Linked DNA regions of Homo sapiens: all the other regions are linked to region 4. The links are contacts of gene promoters, found by promoter capture Hi-C in human tissues and cell types (Jung and others, 2019). All regions are on one chromosome and are shown on one strand. The core of a region is centred on a gene start or on the middle of the fragment in contact, and the rest is flanking DNA. Distances in the headings are between cores, read along the strand shown.

What was found. Contacts are between HindIII fragments. The study calls those that stand out against the background at their distance.
Region 1: a fragment that was not itself captured here is called in contact with the fragment with the promoter of SLC4A11 in region 4 in 1 of the 25 tissues and cell types used here (dorsolateral prefrontal cortex).
Region 2: a contact is called between a fragment that was not itself captured here and the fragment with the promoter of SLC4A11 in region 4, in 1 of the 25 tissues and cell types used here (spleen).
Region 3: a fragment that was not itself captured here is called in contact with the fragment with the promoter of SLC4A11 in region 4 in 1 of the 25 tissues and cell types used here (spleen).

Annotation. Positions count from the first base shown.
Region 1 is chr20:3,644,312-3,647,804 of GRCh38, reverse strand. ATRN (attractin) reads right to left here. Exons shown (of 29, transcript NM_139321.3): 29 at 1-1,082. The coding sequence ends at 958. Among named protein-coding and RNA genes, the nearest start is that of GFRA4, 17 kb to the left of the region's middle. The HindIII fragment of the contact is 3,961 bases long and covers 1-3,493 here.
Region 2 is chr20:3,580,232-3,583,444 of GRCh38, reverse strand. It overlaps ATRN (attractin), which reads right to left. Exons shown (of 29, transcript NM_139321.3): 16 at 1,091-1,310. Among named protein-coding and RNA genes, the nearest start is that of GFRA4, 82 kb to the left of the region's middle. The HindIII fragment of the contact is 8,776 bases long and covers 1-3,213 here.
Region 3 is chr20:2,905,716-2,909,012 of GRCh38, reverse strand. The region is part of intron 1 of PTPRA (protein tyrosine phosphatase receptor type A); the gene reads right to left. Among named protein-coding and RNA genes, the nearest start is that of PTPRA, 34 kb to the right of the region's middle. The HindIII fragment of the contact is 8,451 bases long and covers 1-3,297 here.
Region 4 is chr20:3,237,309-3,240,461 of GRCh38, reverse strand. It overlaps SLC4A11 (solute carrier family 4 member 11), which reads left to right and starts at 1,272. Exons shown (of 20, transcript NM_001174089.2): 1 at 1,272-1,367; 2 at 2,874-2,918. The coding sequence starts at 1,325. RefSeq lists silencers at 1,023-1,182, 1,283-1,462. The HindIII fragment of the contact is 33,876 bases long and covers 1-3,153 here.

The sequences.
Region 1 (3,493 bases), core at 685-3,184, 410 kb before region 4:
ATGTTCCTTGGGTGAGAAAATTCTTTCCTGGCTGCAAATCAGATTTTAGAAAAAAAGCAGATTGCCAATGGTAGCTATTTAAATTTTACAAGAATGTAGGAATGCAATTATGTAAAAACTTAGGCTTACTAACTTTCCAATTGCTAGATCTATTTAAAGTCTAGGCACTTAGTGTTGTGTGTATGTGTTTGTGTGTGTATGTGTGAGAGAGGGAGGGTGAGATGGAGAAGGAGAGGGACAGGCAGAGAGAAAGGAAGAGAGAGTTTCAAATGGATTAAGACTAAATTAATCAAGTTACTATAGAAAACTACCTATTATACCAGTTTACATTCAAAGTAACACTGCTGACCTTGACATTTAAAATAGCCCCCCTTCTATCCTAGCTTGATATGATCAAAAGAGATGGACCATTATTAATTCTCAACTAGAAAAAAAGGTACTCCCTGGAAGAGAGATAATTGCCTAAATCGTGCAAGAATAAATAGCACATCTTTTAAAAAAGATAGCAGGCTTCAGATGAAAACAATTCATCTGACTAGTTTTTAAAAGACCATGTTCAAGAACAACTGATGACGAATGTCTACTTGTAAACACTCCATCTTTTGTTTTTTGCACAGTTGAGACAGTCCCAAGAACAGTTTTCCACAGTGAACCTGAGTGTCATTCCTAGTTCTCTCACTGGCTCTACACTGGCCTCCTCCAGCAACCATCAGCTCATCCCTGGACCTGTAATTAAATCAAGTATTTCCTATGCAAAAGTAAAAGGTTAGATGCTGGAACACGGATGGGAGAAACCGTCAAAGAAAGCTTGTGATCATGCAGGTGAGTCAGATGCTTTGAGGGTTTCCAGTCTTCCGTCCCGCACCGCACAGCCATTTCCCCGCCACGCCCTTCCCTGCAGATGGCTCTGGTGTGCCACTCACTAGCTCGTGCGTGGGAGAGTCCCTGGCCCCAGCATCAGATGCAGGTCCCAGGCTGTGCAGGGGGCTGCTGCTTCCGGTTTCTCACGGCTCCTGACTTCTCCTTGTACACTATCGGCATCTGCTGAGAAATGTCCACCAGGGCGCTGGCCACAGCAAGACCTTGGGAGAACCACAGAGAGAACATATGCTGGGAGCAGCTGGCTTTTATTTTGTTTTAAAAAATAATTTAAACATTTATTTTTCAATCCCATGGTGCAAAACAAACAAACCAAAAAACCAGAACAAAAAACCCCCAAAAAGGTACACATACACAGGGAAAAGTCTTCCTTCCACCCTGACCCTCCCTCCGCCTTCCCCTCCATCTGGGTAAACGCTTTCACTAATTTTTATGTATTCTTTGAGGGTATACTTATGCAAATACAAATACACATTCTTCTCCTTTCCCTACTTTTTACACAAAAGGTGCAGTTTGCTTTTCAGCACATCAACCAAGCACAGTGCTCTGCTTGGTGGTGGGAACATATAAATGAGATTGTAGACGTGTGCTAAGTGCCCAATTTCTCCTGCCTTCCTCCAAAAGGAGCCGAGAAACAGCAGCACGCTTTATGACGAGATTCAGATTCACCCCTATCACTCAGTCAGCATTAGTCACTTCCATTCCATACCACGATACAGGCAGGGCAGGCTCTGGGGCCAGGCTTTGGAATAAGCAAGGTTCTTTAACCTCCCTGCACCTCAGTTTCCTCATTTGTAAAATGGGGATAATAGTAGTACAGGGCTAGTGTGAAGAATCAATGAGTGAACTGACAAAGTCTTAGTACCTGGCATGCATAAAGTCTTAGTATCTGGCGCGCAGCAACCCACGATCAATAGCAACTACCCTTTATGCTCATCACTGCCCCGCCGCCCACTTTGCTTTGGGGACTTGCAATCCCATTTTCCTTCCTGTATTGATAACGGAGTAATCTGACATCCATTAGGGAAGGCACGGTTCTGGGGGAGCTGGATTCCTAATATACGTGGGAAATGGCCAGCGCAGGCTCGGAGCTCTGCTGAGACCTGCCAGGAGTTGTGTTAGTGGAGCGTGTTACTTGCCTTGTTGAGCCTGTGAAGGGGAGTGGGGGTGGGGGTAGACAGCTGTAAGTGCCTGGCACACAGTGGGGAATGCTCTGGGAGCCTAGAAAAGGGCACCACTTAAAACAGGGGGTACAGAAGGGGCAGCAAGGACGGCCCCACTGTTGGGTGGGTCTCAAGCATTGAGCAGACCTTTATTAGGTGTTTCAGGTGGTTGGGGCATGTCAGGCAAAGGCTGGAGCAGGAAAGGCTACAGGGCTGCACACCTGTCACCTTGCCGCCCCAGCCGCCACCCTGCCCTCAGGGCACACCAGCCACTGTTTGCTGGGCTGGGCGGTGGCAGGAGACACAAACTGCACTTGAGTGACAGACGAGAGAGTTGTCCTGTCCTCAACACAGGCAAGGCCGAGTTAGGGGCTCAACTCACAGGAATCCCTAGGTGAGATGAAGACAATGAATCCTGGCCGAGCCATGTCGAAAGGCCTCCCTCGTGAAGATACTATAGATCCTAACCATTCTAAAGCTGGGCTGGAGGATCTTCTGGGTCTGAGGGTGCACTGAAGGGACAGTGGAGCTCAGGGCCTGGACCAGTATCCTGGGGCAGCCTTTCCACCAGACACAGGGTGCTCTCTGGCTAAGGTAACCCTGACTCCAGAATCATCTCAACTGAAAGTTGTCTAAAATGATCACATTGAGGCATCCTCCAAAGCACTCTGTAATTAAGCGAGATACTTTCAAAACTGTATTCCATATTTTCTGTCTTCAAAATAGAAGTTTATATAATCATGATTCATATATTTGATGGAGAAGTGTCACATGCATTGGTAAAATATTATGTAGTAGGCTATAAAAATGTTTAAGATAGTTATATGAAAAAAGCAGAATAAAAATTAGATCTATACAATCATTTCAACTAAATTGCTGGCCAGGGCTGGAAAGAACACAGAACAATGAAAATTGGTGGGTTGTGGGATAGCAGAACTGTGCGTGGATTTTCAGACGTTTCCTTTATGTTATCGTTGTGTTTGTGCCTTATATTTAAAACAGTGAAAAAGCAAAAGAAATGCAGGAGGGCTAGAAATACCAATTGAAGAAACACCAGCCCAGGGGAGATGGCTGGAAGTTGTGGAGTGGAGAAGGCAACTGAGGAAGAACATGCAGGGTGAAGGGAGCACACCCAGATTCAGGGGCAGGACAGGGCAAAAGAGACAGGGAAAGAGCAGCAGAGGCAAAGGGGGACCAGAAACTCCGACAGCAAAGGAAGGTGTGGTCAGAGGCATCCACGAGCACTGAGAGGCTGGGGAGGCCAGAACGGTGAGGAGGTCCCGGGACGTCCCCCCAGGAAGGGACGATGACCTCGGGAAAACAGTTTTGGGCATATAGGTGAAAATGGGTTATCTCACTGAATCCTTGCCATGGCATGGGCAGGCACTGTTGGTTATCACCTTTATAACCTTGTTCTCTAGGAAAGGGAAGTATCCCATGCTTAGCTCCCT
Region 2 (3,213 bases), core at 373-2,872, 340 kb before region 4:
ATCAAGTACTGTTTAGTCAAGTGTATTTACACACTTGTGGAAAAAATAAATTTTCTTTTCAAAGAGCATTAAGGACAAAGATGAGGAAACAGTGAATCTTTCCATAAAAGTAGGGCTGTAAGCCCCTTAGAATTTGGGGACCCAGGATGAACTTTAGGGGTTTTACAATCCACTTGAATATGTAAAATCTCATGTTTGCAATTTTGGAGGGAAGAAGGTCTACGGCATTCATTAAGTTCAACAAAGGATTCAGAATTCTGAAAGGCTGCTGGGCAGCTCCCCTAGAGAAGTTTAGAAATCAATATTTAGAAATCTACAATGCTATGAATTCTCTCCTATACCTCTGTAATTCCTCAGACAAATTACTTTCCCAAAATTGGACACAATGCAAATGGAGTCCAGCCTCCCAAAATAATCCACAATTCCACCGACTGCTTGTGAGTCCCTCTGCAGGAGGAGGAGGCTTATTTTGAGTTGTCTTCATGCTGCAGCAGCTACCCCTGGGCCTGCCTTTAGTTAGCCAAAATGTAGCCCAGAGAGACTGAAAGCTGGGAAGCTACTCCGAGTGTCTGTCTGCTCAGTACTCTCCTGCAGCTCTCGCGTAGTTCTGGGTTGCTTCTGTCCTCGCTTACAGAACTGCTCTCATCATTTTTCTCCCTGTTGACACTACCTTTCTGAACACTGTCCCTGCAGTCACTTGCTTGCTTTACTAATCTTTTCTTTGTTTTTATTTTCCTTTTTTGTTTCTTCTTCCACAGCATTTCTCTGCCAACACCAATAAATTTGCTTTTCAGAGCAATTCTCAATACTTTTTCTGGTCAATAAACCTATCAATCTCATTGTTAATTAGAATATCAGTTTCTTCGAGTAGTGTTAGTTATTTTTAGTTTTGCTTATAATTAAAACTATTCAGGGTCCCAGAATATTTCCTTCTGCTTCTGAAATCTGGGTTATACTCTTCTTTGCATGCTTGAAATCAATACTTCATCTGTTTTCATGACTACTTCACACATCTCAGCAATGAACTATGCCTCCTATGGTTTCTCTCACAATAAACTCTGAATACCACCTAATTCACCTGTGAACTTACCAGGCCTTTCACAGACACTACCATTGAGTGGGTTGATGCAGGTTGCAGCCTTCAGTCCCCGAGTACTGGGTTCTGATAAAATTCCACAGAATCCAGCATCACTGGGCTCAGACGGCATCCACTGTAGTAAACTATTTGTAAATGGGGACATATCTTCCCAGCACCAGTAGGACACATTGATCTTCCGAAGGCCGACCCATGGGGTTAAGGTGAGCTTGGACTAAAGGCAAAAGAGACACAACTATGAATACAGATAGTATCTTTTTTTAATTTAAATTTTGGAGATGGAGTCTTGCCATGTTGCCCTGGCTAGTTTCAAACTCCTGAGCTCAAGTGATCCTCCCACCTTGGCCTCCCAAAATGTTGAGATTATAGGCATGAGCCACCATGCCTGGCCTGAATATAACCAACATCTTGACCAAAACAAGCTTCTAGATAAAAACCACCAAGTTAAGTATACCCCACAGACATAGGAAAACCTCTTTATCCCTTGACTCAGCCATGGTAGATTAGGATAGATCATCACTTCAATATGGCCATTTTATAAAGGATAAAAATGTAGCTCAGAGAAGATAATATATCAAAAATTCACAGAAATTATAGCAAAGCAATATTTAAGTTCTGAAATGTCTATATGAAGAGATGGCTACCCCCAAACACAGGCTGAGTATCCCTAATCTGAAATCCAAAACACTCCAAAATCTAAAACTTTTTGAGTGCCAACATGATGGATGCTGAAGGAAAATGTTCACTAGAGCATTTTGGATTTCCAGATTAGGGATGCTTAACTGGTTAGTATAATGCAAATATTCTAAAATTCGAAACACTCCTCGTCCAAAGCATTTTAGATAAGGGATATTCAACTTATACCACATTTGCTTTATCCATTCATCCATCCTGGCACTGGATTTTATAGGGAATAATAGGACAGTGACACCTGGGACAGTCTGTCTTCTGCTCTCCTGAAATTTCCTTCTCATTGCAATTTTTAACAAGTTTTAAAAATCAAAATATAAAGTTTAGCCAAGAAATGGTAAGTATTCCTAATTTTGGTAGTTATAAAACAAAAGATATACTGTATTTCCCTCCCTTTGCTTTCTTTTGAGACAGGGTCTCGCTCTGTTGCCCATGCTGGAGTGCAGGGACATGATCATGGCTCACTACAGCCTCAAACCCCTGGGCTCAAGCAACCCTCTTGCCTCAGCCTCCCAAGTAGCCGGAACTACAAGTATGTGCCACCATCATGCCCGGCTAATTCTTTAAAAAAACTTCCTTTGTAGAGACGAGGTCTCCCTGTGTTGCCCAGGCTAGTCTTGAACTCCTGGGCTCAAGCAATCCTCCCTCACTGGCCTCCCAAAATGCTGGGATTACAGGCAGGAGCCACCACACCCAGCCTATTTCCATTTTTGAGAGGAAAAAATACACATGCCTACTAAAAGACCTAAAAATAAACAGATCCAAAAGAAAGAAAGACAATTAAAAATACTTTTTAAAGGCCCTTCAATAATTTCTTTGCCTTCACGATACAATTCAAATCCATTACTATTGTAGCCATGGCCTCGCAGGGTCTGGCCTTGGTTCCTTCCTGAGGCTCAACTATAAAAATCCCCTCCCATCCAGCCTGCAGCCAACCATGCAAACTTACCTGCAGCTCACTCAAAGAGCCACTCCCTTAATCATCTCCCTCTACATCTCACAGATGGGGGCACTAATTAAATCACAGAAAGCCCTTCCGTCTTCGACATCCTAATTCACTCCTTCTCACCTGCAGGGGTCACCTCCTTCCAGCTTTCTACCAGCCAGCCTCTGTCCTAAGGGTTAGGCTAGGTGTCCTTTCTTGTTTTTCCATAAAAATCTGGGCTCTACTAACTGGGCTACATCTAGAGGTATAGCTGTGGAAGGACATTACACTTCAGTTGTCTCTCATCTGTCAGTCTTATCATTAAGACTGTGAATTTCTGTTTCATAAACGTGGCCACAGCAGATTAGAATACCCAGAAACGTTTAGAGTTAGAAAACCTAAGGAAGAGAGAAAGGGTACCAGAAGTATATCTGTGGCCACCTGGTTGAACCCTTTTAACTTCTGTGGACTCGAGAGTCATTGTTAGAGACACCAGGGTAAT
Region 3 (3,297 bases), core at 186-2,685, 330 kb after region 4:
CTTATATAGCTTTCCACTGCTGCTCAGTATCCCACAAATCACAGTCACAAAGTTATAACTCAACAGCATGTTTGGTGCCACACATGCATATTGTCATACTGTGACATTTTATTTTTTATTAATGCATAACTGTTATCAGTAACTAAAAGTCGTTATTATTTTGACATTTTATTAGTACATAACTATCATTAGTTATTAGTGCATAACCATCATGTCGAAACAAAAACAAATGCACTTTGAATGTCATGTTTTTCATTTTTTTTAATTTTGTATTTTTTTAAAACTAGAGATGGACTCTCACTATGTTGCCAAGGCTGGTCTTGAACTCCTGGGCTCAAGCAATCCTCCCACCCTGGCCTCCAAAAGTGCTGGGATTACAAGTGTGAGCCACCACACCCAGCCTGAATGTCATGCTTTTAAGGCACAGTGGAGGGTATGCATTATTTTATCAAGACAAGATAGGGAAGCATTTTGTTTATTATGCAATGACTCTACGGTCATCCCTTGGTATCTGTGGATCAACCGTGGATACCAAAATCTATGCACACTCAAGTCCCACAGTGGCCCAGAGGATACAAAAATTTCACTGTTCTGTATCTGGGGGTTTCCTCAAATAACGTATTTTTGATCCACGTTTGGTTGTATATGTATAAACTGCTGATTGTATTTATTGAAAAAAAATTCTCATATAATTGGACCTGTGCAGTTTGAAACTGCGTTGTTCAAGGAGTCAACTGTCTGTCTGTGCTAAAAGAATTCAAAATACATCAATGTTACCAAACTAAGGACCGATCACAGTATTTCCGATTCACAGGAAAGCAATGGTCAGAAAAATTTGAAAATTTAAAGTGGAATATTTCATTACAGCAAGGAGGGAAGGTAAGGAATAGAAAGTTTGTAAAGGAGGGAAGTTTCTAAGTAGCTCATTTGTTAGCAAAGCAAGAAAAGTAATATTCTAGTGATAAGTGAATTAAATCATGAAGAAGCTGAAGAAATGTATCCAGAGAAAATAAACTTGTTTAAGAGTATTAATTAGCCTTTCTCTAGGCTTTCTCCAGACAGGTAACAAAAAAATTATTTTTTAAATTTAATATAAGATAATTTAAAAAGAAAAAAAGACTATTAGCCTTTCAACAAAATCATTTGCTCTAAAAGTCGAAAATATTAGGAGCAAGATCAATAATCTGTTTAAAAAAAAAACCAAGGCAATTGAGGTTAAGTAGATTTCCATCTCTTTTGAATGAGTTTGATAGATGTTACAACACTGTTCAGATGTTTATTCAAGGAGTCAGTGCCAAGTTTAAAACAACTGAAGAATTAGCTTCTATGAATAGTCTGTGTTGAACAACTACAAACAAGAAGGTGAAAAAGTACTAATTCCATATAACCTAAAGTGGAATCTCAGATACGTTATCATTGATAATGGTAAAAATATGTGTGAAGCAGAAAAAGGCTTAGTTGGGTGATTTATAAAACGTGAAAATGTAAGGTGGTTATTCATGTTTTTTATCAATAGATATTCTATGAAAAATATCTGAATTTATCATGAATTATTAAACCAACCATGTTAATGGTGAATTTCATTCACTGCCATGGGCTTAACCATTGTCAGAAACAGAAGCTGAATAACCTGACTTGCCCAGGCACACAGCAGTTTGACGGCTGAGCTGTACTAAAGTTTTATCATGCTTTTTTTTTTTTCTTTTCAGCTTGGAACTGAGATTGAAATTTTTCACAACAATAAGACTGCTTTCAGACACTATGATCAAACAATAAATGGCTTTGAGAATTAGCTTTTGCTAATTTTATAATAGTAAATTCAACTTAAAATTACAGGACAGAACAACACTTATATATGAAACTTAAACTGTTGTTATTTAGACAACTAACTTTTGAATCATAAGCAACGTTGAGCTGCTTTATACACTTTACATGCTATCAAAAGTTAAAACAAGAAGTGAGATCTCCATTCCCAAACAAATTTGCAGTGGATATAGTTTCTTAGCTCACACTACATTTCCAGAATAATTTTTAGGACCTTAATGCACAAGGAAATATCTATATTTCAGTATCTATTTAACAGTGCAATTGTGGAGCTTCTGTCTAACCTTCCATTGGAAGTAATTAAGCAGCAATGAATAATATACTAAAAGGTAAATGTTATAAGAAAAACCTAATTCTATAAATGCTTCCTGAGTTATTAATATGCTCAATTAAAATCATATGTTTATGGGCTGGTATCAATTATTTGACATGTATGTGTGAAGACATGTCAAAGATGAAATATATAAAACCTCATTACAGACCTGCATTAATAGATAAATACTTGCAATCAATTTTGATGATTATTTATTGAATAGGAAGCACTAACTCTGAACTCCAATTAAGAAAATGTTATCACTCCGAAAAGAACTCCATTCTTCTCATTAGTATACCTGTATTTCAATAAATTGTGTTTATTATTTTGAATTTAATCAATTAAGAAATTTCTCAAAATTTGTTTTCTCTCTTGTTATATCAGAACGTACGTATTACCCTTGATTCTACTTCAGCCTGCAAAATCTAAAATATTTACTATCTGGCCCTTTATAGGAGGATCAGATAATTACTTCTTTGGAGAAAGGTTTTCTTCAGCCGAAGCATATAAAAGCTTGTCCTCTATCTCCTTCTGGGATTGGTAAAAACTTATCTAACACAAATAGGACTCAGGGCTGACTGGTTACATGAAAAAGTACAGTATATCAGGTAATTTTAAAAATGTAACTGAAATATTTGATTTTTACTCAAAACAAATACATGTCACCTGCCAATATTACGGTAAAAAACCAAGGCCTCTTCTTTAAGTACATTTCTACTAATTAATGTTTCAAATGTTCTCTCTTGCATATTCATTACAAATATATCATATCCATAACCCATCATATCCATAATCCACATTTGTGATTTCAAATTTCAGTTTCTTTAAATGGAACAAGAATCTAGGCAACTGTAAGACAACTGAGTATAGATCGTTTAAGAATTTTACGAGGTCAGGTGTGGTGGCTCACACCTGTAATACCAGCACTTTGGGAGGCCGAGGCGGGTGGATCACCTGAGGTCAGGAGTTCGAGACCAGCCTGACCAACATGGAGAAACTATGTCTCTACTAAAAATACAAAAAAGTAGCCAGGTGTGGTGGCGCATGCCTGTAATCCCAGCTATTCGGCAGGCTGAGACAGGAGAATCATTTGAACCCAGGAGGCAGAGGTTGTGGTGAGCTGAGACCACACCATTGCACTCTAGCCTGGGAAACAAGAG
Region 4 (3,153 bases), core at 23-2,522:
ACAAGGCCTCCTGGAGTCGCGCTGGGGGAGGGTGGGGTACTCAGTCTGTCGCAGAGCCCCAGGCCATCCGTCGCCAAGAGGAGCACTCCAGCGCTTCCCTCCTAATGCGTTCTTATCTTGCCGGGAGGAGAACTGGGCCAGCCTTACTCACCCAATCTATGCATGAGGCTTCCCCAACGCGCCAGAAGCCCTTCCTTCGCAGAGGTGGGCTTGCCCCGGCCTGTCCCCGTTCCTCTACCATGGTTAGGGCACAGTGGCCGAGGACTCCGTCCCAGCGCGGCTGAGCCGGAAAGCGATGGCGGCCGGAGGGGTCGGGAGGTTGGTTAGCGCTTTACGGAGCTGCGTGTTCCGTTTCCAAGGGCTGTAGAGCCTTCTACTGGGAGCCACCGTGGATCAGGCCAGGGGTTCGTCAGCTGCATTTGCCGGATCGCATCGCAGCACGCGCACCCACACGCGCACACGCCCTACTCGCAGGAGACTAAGCGCCCCGAAAAGGCGCGTCCCCGGGCGGGTCGCAGCCGGTCCAGGAAAGGGGACAGGGCGCAAGGGCCATTTGGGGAAGGAAAAAGGGGGCGAACCATGACCTTGACCTCATAGAAGGCCGAGGACGTGAAGAGGCTGGCAGATAAGTTGGCGAGGCTCGCAGCGAAAACCCAAAGCAGCCGAGCTCGGAGAGCGCCGTCTCAGCGGGCGAGGGCGTAGCCCGGGGAATGCACGGAGGTCCGTCTAGTCAGTCGGGGCGCGCTTCCTGGAGGAGGAGGAGAAGGACTTGCGGCCGGAGCTACCGGGATAAATGCAGGAGGCGGGGCAGCCAGCGGGCGTGGCCCTGCGGAGGTCCCCGGTCGAAAGGAGGAGACAGGGGCCGGCCGCGTACTTAAAGCGGACGCGGGGGAAGCCCTCCCGGGGTCTGCCTCAGTCGCACAGCTCGGTGGGCTCGTGGCGCAGTCGAACGTTTTCCCAGAAGCTCCCCGGCCCCGTCCAGCCCCTAAACTCGCGACGCTGGGTCTGCTGGGTCCGGCGCGCACAGGCTCGAAGGAGCCGGGTCTACTCGGTTTGGCCCAGCAGCTGCGGGCGGCGGGGAGCAGCCCAGCCCGGCTGGAGCAGCCTCCCGCGGGTGAGGGCGCGGGGCGGGCGGCCGGGTCCCAGCCCTCGGCAGCTCTGCCTACCGCGCCCGGGCGCGGCGTCTGAGCGGCATTAGGACCCAGGCGCGGCGTGGGGGTGTGTCGCCGGCTCCCGCCGCCGGCCCGCCCGAGTCGCCGAGTTTGGGGTCCAGAAGCGCCGGAGCGCCGCGTGAGGAGCCCGGCCGTGAGTGCGCGAGTGTGCCATGGCCGCGGCCACCAGGCGCGTGTTCCATCTGCAGCCGTGCGGTGGGTGCCTGAACCCGGGGGCGCGGCGGGAAGGCCGCCCGGGTCTCCGCCACCGTCTCCCGTCGGGGACCCCGGGGAGAACGCGGATGCCGTCTGCCTGCGCGGGCCGGGGCCGGTGGGCGAGAGGGCTGCGGGATTCCCAGCCGCGGGGAGGAGGGCGCGGGTGCGGGAGGCCCGGGCGCGGCTTCGCGGCCACCGCGCGCTTGGTTTCATTAGGGCTCTGCTGTCGCCGTCTTGAATTTCTTACCAGGTTTGAACAGCTGATGCAGCGGGTCGAGGGCGGGGAGCTCGAAAGTGGGCAGGGCGGAGCTGTGGGGCTCCCAGCGCCCCGAGCGCCGAGCTTTTGGGAGCCTGGCGGGCCGCCGCCTCGGAAGGTCTCATTTTACCTTCCGCCCGGGCATCTTCCCGTCCGGCGCCGCGGTGGGAGCCCCGGAACCCCTGGAGTTTTGGGAGTCCCGGGACCCCTGACCGTGCCCTGCGCGGCCGCAGCGGTTTCTCCCTTGCTCTGACACGGGAGGGCCAGCCCTGGGTCCCCGCCAGGACCCAGGTTTGTACGACCCTTTACCTGCACGTGGGCCGCCGGGACGGAAGCGGAGTGTGCACCGGCCCAACCCTCCCAGACCCTCGTCGCCCACGGCCTGGGACGCGCCCCAGCGCCCCCGCCCCCCACTTCAGGATGCAGCCCCGGCTCCCGCCCCGCGCCTGCATTCACATCCTGCGCCCCGACCCCCGGGGTCTCCGAGTCTGGAGGCGCTTTCCTCTCGTGCACGCGGCCCCTCCTGTCGCTTCCTTCCTCCGACAGCGAGGCACAAACAGCCGGGACCATCCGGGGACCGGCCCAGGGAGGGCGCAGCCTCCCCCGACCCATGTGTCCCTCAGATACTCCTCCCACCCCCAATTGTTCTCCCTTTTGGACCAACGGCTCTGGCTTCCAGGCGGCCGGGACGCGGTCCCAGGACTGGAGACCGTTGCCTGTCGGCCCCCGTGTGACCCGGGGCGCGTGACGGGGGTCGGGGGAACTGCGCCTGCAATGGGCGTTTATGGCCCCCAGGACCGGTCTGAGAGTGAGAAGAGGGATGTGCAGAGAGATCCCCCGCCTTGGCATCCGAGGAGAGAGGGGGAGAGGCCCGCTCGGGCCCGGTCCCTTCCTCTCGCTGCAGCGGGGCAGGGTTTTCTCAGGAAAACCTGGATTAGCGAACATGGTACTGGTACTAACTCGGTGGGAAGACATCCCTGGAACGTCTCTCCTCCTCGCCTCTGGCCCGCCTGGGCAGCCCCTAGCAGATGGGCTAAGCAATTGAATTTCTGAGATTAAGGCTGGCTTCCCCTGCTATGGGGCCCCCTCCCGAGCACTGTCCCCTGCTTCCCTTTCTCCCTAGGGTGGCGTGGGTTGCATCCCTCGGAAGAGCGAAGGAATGAGCCAGGTCGGGGGGCGGGGAGACAGGTGCACACAGGAGGTCCAGGGCTTGGTCCATGGGGCTGGTGACCTTTCTGCTTCCCTTGCAGAAAACTCTCCCACCATGTCGCAGAATGGATACTTCGAGGATTCAAGTGAGTACCTCTCGGGGAGTGTGTGTGTGCAGAGAGAGCTTGTCGGGCAAAAGCCTCCAGGGTGCATAGCCTACCCACCAGAGTCCTGTGGCTTTGCTCGCCTATCTGGGCCACTCTAGTGCTGGAATGCTTTTGGCTTCCACTCTTCGGGAAGCTAGACATGGGCGGATCCCCCGTGGACCTGAGAGGGCAGGCTGCCCATTCTCCTGGGCTACTTGGACCAGGTGAACCCTCT